Linked DNA regions of Homo sapiens: region 1 is linked to region 2. The links are contacts of gene promoters, found by promoter capture Hi-C in human tissues and cell types (Jung and others, 2019). All regions are on one chromosome and are shown on one strand. Each heading gives the region's core, a stretch centred on a gene start or on the middle of the fragment in contact. The rest is flanking DNA. Distances are from core to core; before and after follow the strand shown. Region 1 holds the start of LOC124900476 (endogenous retrovirus group K member 5 Gag polyprotein-like). Region 2 holds the start of BCR (BCR activator of RhoGEF and GTPase).

The links. The method cuts DNA at HindIII sites, captures the fragments that hold promoters and counts their contacts. A contact is called where the count stands out against the background at its distance.
Region 1: a contact is called between a fragment that was not itself captured here and the fragment with the promoter of BCR in region 2, in 1 of the 25 tissues and cell types used here (spleen).

The regions. Positions count from the first base shown.
Region 1 is chr22:23,534,657-23,537,356 of GRCh38, forward strand. LOC124900476 (endogenous retrovirus group K member 5 Gag polyprotein-like) reads left to right here and starts at 2,225. Exons shown (of 2, transcript XM_047441690.1): 1 at 2,225-2,480. RefSeq lists enhancers at 1-562, 563-1,179, 1,795-2,411. The HindIII fragment of the contact is 4,075 bases long and covers 1-2,700 here.
Region 2 is chr22:23,179,180-23,181,879 of GRCh38, forward strand. It overlaps BCR (BCR activator of RhoGEF and GTPase), which reads left to right and starts at 1,330. Exons shown (of 23, transcript NM_004327.4): 1 at 1,330-2,700. The coding sequence starts at 1,782. It also overlaps a transcript of RSPH14 not described here and the pseudogene BCRP8. RefSeq lists an enhancer at 250-1,060 and silencers at 1,181-1,420, 1,491-1,760, 1,781-1,860. The HindIII fragment of the contact is 16,176 bases long and covers 1-2,700 here.

The DNA of each region.
Region 1 (2,700 bases), core at 49-2,548, 360 kb after region 2:
CCCGAGGAAGAGAGAATGCTGGCAGGATAGTCATGGAGCGGGGGCTCAGGAAGGCCTCTTTGAGGAGACAGTCTTAACACCTGAGAGCTGAGAAGAATTCAGCCTCACAAAACCCAGAGACGTGGCCCTCAAGAGGGAGATGGGGCTGGGAGACATGGTGGAGTGGCCAGGCCGGGAGTGGCTGCAGGGTTTGAGCCTGGGCCCAGCAGGTCTGGCAGGTCACCCCAGGGGTCTCCTGCTTGCTCCTGAGCCAGTGTCTGTGAGAGCTGGGTGGCAAGGCCAGCGGGAGGCTGAGGGACCCAGGGCCCGGGCATGTGGGAAGCGAGGGCGGCCTCTCCTTGGTTCCTCGGCAGCCTGGACCCTCACCCCCTGCAAGGTCCTGGTGGCCACCGCTTGCAGGGCCGTCCCTCTGGGAGTGGGCAGGGGGGCTGGGGGACACTGGGAAGACCTTCACCCCTCCGAAGGCAAGGCCTGGTCACGTTCATCCTCCATCCCTTTCCCGCCTGGACTCCTCCTGTGTGCTGGGAGCACTTGGCCGTGTGAGAACAGGGCAGCATGGTGGACGGGCCAGCATGGCACGGCGAGGTCTGAGCCCCTGGCTACTCTCCCCAGCCCTGAGAACTCAGGCTGCTCCGTAAGCTCTGTGGGCCTCAGGCTCCTGGTCGCTAGAATGGAGCCACAGGCAGGCTACCCAGAAGTGAGATGCCTGCCAAAAAGCCGTGTGCCCAGCCCAGAGCCAAGACTTGGTCCATCGAGCCCCAGCTCAAAAGCCCTATGAGAGGCCGGCCCTGAGCACCGTCCCTGTCCCTGTGTGCCACTTCAGTCACAATTCAGCAGCTCGCAGCCGCCCACTGAGGCTGAGCCTCTGTTCAAATTTGCCTCGATGTTTGCTGGTCACTGATTCAGGTCTTCGGGCCTCAGCTTCCTTACCCACAAACTGGGGGCGGCCTCTGGGGGCTGTTGTAAGGGGAGCTGGAGGCCACAGGCTCTGGCCTGGAGCACTTCGCTCTCCACCACTGTCTTCTCCTGACGTCTGTGTTTCCTCGTATCTCATGGTACCGCGTCTCCTCCGCAGGACCTGTGTGTCCTGTGTGACGCTGTGTGCCACCCACCACATCTTCAGCCCCTGAGAAAGATTCTGGTGGTGGAGGCTGTTGAGTAAATGCTCACTTGAGCTTCTCCCACTACCTTGGAGCCCCTCTTCTATTTGTCTCCAAATTCTCTTTGCTGACAGAGTGCACAGTTCAAAACCCCACACTGGGATGAACTAGAGGACGCCCAGGTCCAGCTCAGGAGCAGCTTCATGTCCCCTCCACTGCTGTACCTCTAGGGCCTCCCTCTGCCACTGCCATCTACTAGGACATTCTTCCTGGGCCCCTGTGGGACAAGGACTGCCTTTGGCTAGTGTGGGGAAAAGAAAGAGAGATCAGACTGTTACTGTGTCTATGTAGAAAGAAATAGACATAAGAGACTCCATTTTGTTCTGTACTAAGAAAAATTCTTCTGCTTTGAGATGCTGTTAATCTGTAACCCTAGCCCCAACCCTGTGCTCACAGAAACAGGTGCTGTGTTGACTCAAGGTTTAATGGATTCAGGGCTGTGCAGGATGTGCTTTGTTAAACAAATGCTTGAAGGCAGCAAGCTTGTTAAGAGTCATCACCACTCCCTAATCTCAAGTAAGCAGGGACACAAACACTGCGGAAGGCCGCAGGGACCTCTGCCTAGGAAAGCCAGGTGTTGTCCAAGGTTTCTCCCCATGTGACAGTCTGAAATATGGCCTCTTGGGAAGGGAAAGACCTGACTGTCCCCTGGCCCGACACCCGTAAAGGGTCTGTGCTGAGGATTAGTAAAAGAGGAAGGAAGGCCTCTTTGCAGTTGAGATAAGAGGAAGGCATCTGTCTCCTGCTCATCCCTGGGCAATGGAATGTCTTGGTGTAAAGCCTGATTGTATATGCCATCTACTGAGATAGGAGAAAACTGCCTTAGGGCTGGAGGTGGGACATGCTGGCGGCAATACTGCTCTTTAAGGCATTGAGATGTTTATGTATATGCACATCAAAAGCACAGCACTTTTTTCTTTACCTTGTTTATGATGCAGAGACATTTGTTCACATGTTTTCCTGCTGGCCCTCTCCCCACTATTACCCTATTGTCCTGCCACATCCCCCTCTCCGAGATGGTAGAGATAATGATCAATAAATACTGAGGGAACTCAGAGACCGGTGCGGCGCGGGTCCTCCATATGCTGAGCGCCGGTCCCCTGGGCCCACTTTTCTTTCTCTATACTTTGTCTCTGTTGTCTTTCTTTTCTCAAGTCTCTCGTTCCACCTGAGGAGAAATGCCCACAGCTGTGGAGGCGCAGGCCACTCCATCTGGTGCCCAACGTGGATGCTTTTCTCTAGGGTGAAGGGACTCTCGAGTGTGGTCATTGAGGACAAGTCAACGAGAGATTCCCGAGTACGTCTACAGTGAGCCTTGTGGTAAGCTTGGGCGCTCGGAAGAAGCCAGGGTTAATGGGGCAAACTAAAAGTAAAGTCTCTCATTCCACCTGATGAGAAACACCCAGAGGTGTGGAGGGGCAGGCCACCCCTTCAGGGTAGGGTCCCCTCCATGCAGACCATAGAGCACAGGTGTGCCCCAAAGAGGAGCAGAGAGAAGGAGGGAGAGGGCCCACGAGAGACTTGGAAATGAATGGCAGGA
Region 2 (2,700 bases), core at 80-2,579:
ATTGGGAGGAGGGCATGATAATCCCTAACATCCACACAGGGACAACAGCACTTGGAGGCAGATGTGCTTCTCACTTCAAGGAAACTGAGGCAGAGAGGGAGAGGTGGTCAGGACTCAAGCCCAGTAATTCATTTGCCAAATCCTGTTTCCTTTTCCCCCAACCCAGCGGGCTGGTTTGGGTATTTTCAGTTTGTGCCCATCAGAGTCCCTGCAGAGTGCTCTCCACTGTGTCTCAGATCTCTGTGTCCCCAGAGAACCATCAAAGGTTTTGTTTCACTCCCTGCTCTGGGCTGTCTTCCACCCAGCCCTGTGAACCTCAGTGCAGGTTGGCCGCCCCCTTAGAGGGAGGCTAATCAGGGAAGTTCTGAGTCAGGTCGTCCTGGAAAAACTACATTGACCTCTGGAGCTCAAGAGAGGCCAGGGGACAAACACATGGCTCAGCACACAGGAAGGCAGGTGTGGGTATTGAGTGACCTGAGGGAGAAATCCCTATTTATCATCCATCATGTGGTCCTGCTGTGACAAACCCGTGTGGCAGCCACCCACAGCAGATCCACAACGTGAGAGGCCCGCTGAAACAAGGGTGCTGGCATTGGTTACTCAGCCTGGCCCTCCCTGCCTTGCGGGGTGACCTGCCTGGTCCTGGCCTCTCTGTGAGTTGGGCCCTGCTGGGTGGTCCCTAGTGTGCCCAGCCCTGAGGCTGGTGAGAGGCCAGGCTGTGAGGTGTGAGGAACTTACCTGCGTCTCCATGGAAGGTGCCCTCCGCATCGTTGGGCCAGATCTGCCTGGTCTTGCAGATGCCCACGATGGTGGCCTCTGACACGACGACTGGGCAGTGCCGGTGACGCTTATGGCACTGCGGCGTGGTAGGGGCAGAGGGGGGAGGTTGCTTCTGTCGGAGGACTGCTGCGAGTTCTGCCAGAGAGAGCAGCTCTTGTCCCGGAACATGAGGTAGGTGGTGGGGCTTGGGGACACGCGGCTGGACTGGCCGGAGAAGTCCTCCTGGCCGGAGGGGAGCCAAGTGTTCCTGTTCCAGGACTGCAGAACTGGCCCAGACCTCTGTATTGGAAAGGTCTTTATGGACCAGGGAGTCCGGTGTCTTTTTTACGGGGGACCCCTGGGCTGCGAGTTGCACAGTCCAATTCGCTGTTGTTAGGGCCTCAGTTTCCCAAAAGGCACAGGGACGGGGGGAGGGTGGCGGCTCGATGGGGGAGCCGCCTCCAGGGGGCCCCCCCGCCCTGTGCCCACGGCGCGGCCCCTTTAAGAGGCCCGCCTGGCTCCGTCATCCGCGCCGCGGCCACCTCCCCCCGGCCCTCCCCTTCCTGCGGCGCAGAGTGCGGGCCGGGCGGGAGTGCGGCGAGAGCCGGCTGGCTGAGCTTAGCGTCCGAGGAGGCGGCGGCGGCGGCGGCGGCACGGCGGCGGCGGGGCTGTGGGGCGGTGCGGAAGCGAGAGGCGAGGAGCGCGCGGGCCGTGGCCAGAGTCTGGCGGCGGCCTGGCGGAGCGGAGAGCAGCGCCCGCGCCTCGCCGTGCGGAGGAGCCCCGCACACAATAGCGGCGCGCGCAGCCCGCGCCCTTCCCCCCGGCGCGCCCCGCCCCGCGCGCCGAGCGCCCCGCTCCGCCTCACCTGCCACCAGGGAGTGGGCGGGCATTGTTCGCCGCCGCCGCCGCCGCGCGGGCCATGGGGGCCGCCCGGCGCCCGGGGCCGGGCTGGCGAGGCGCCGCGCCGCCGCTGAGACGGGCCCCGCGCGCAGCCCGGCGGCGCAGGTAAGGCCGGCCGCGCCATGGTGGACCCGGTGGGCTTCGCGGAGGCGTGGAAGGCGCAGTTCCCGGACTCAGAGCCCCCGCGCATGGAGCTGCGCTCAGTGGGCGACATCGAGCAGGAGCTGGAGCGCTGCAAGGCCTCCATTCGGCGCCTGGAGCAGGAGGTGAACCAGGAGCGCTTCCGCATGATCTACCTGCAGACGTTGCTGGCCAAGGAAAAGAAGAGCTATGACCGGCAGCGATGGGGCTTCCGGCGCGCGGCGCAGGCCCCCGACGGCGCCTCCGAGCCCCGAGCGTCCGCGTCGCGCCCGCAGCCAGCGCCCGCCGACGGAGCCGACCCGCCGCCCGCCGAGGAGCCCGAGGCCCGGCCCGACGGCGAGGGTTCTCCGGGTAAGGCCAGGCCCGGGACCGCCCGCAGGCCCGGGGCAGCCGCGTCGGGGGAACGGGACGACCGGGGACCCCCCGCCAGCGTGGCGGCGCTCAGGTCCAACTTCGAGCGGATCCGCAAGGGCCATGGCCAGCCCGGGGCGGACGCCGAGAAGCCCTTCTACGTGAACGTCGAGTTTCACCACGAGCGCGGCCTGGTGAAGGTCAACGACAAAGAGGTGTCGGACCGCATCAGCTCCCTGGGCAGCCAGGCCATGCAGATGGAGCGCAAAAAGTCCCAGCACGGCGCGGGCTCGAGCGTGGGGGATGCATCCAGGCCCCCTTACCGGGGACGCTCCTCGGAGAGCAGCTGCGGCGTCGACGGCGACTACGAGGACGCCGAGTTGAACCCCCGCTTCCTGAAGGACAACCTGATCGACGCCAATGGCGGTAGCAGGCCCCCTTGGCCGCCCCTGGAGTACCAGCCCTACCAGAGCATCTACGTCGGGGGCATGATGGAAGGGGAGGGCAAGGGCCCGCTCCTGCGCAGCCAGAGCACCTCTGAGCAGGAGA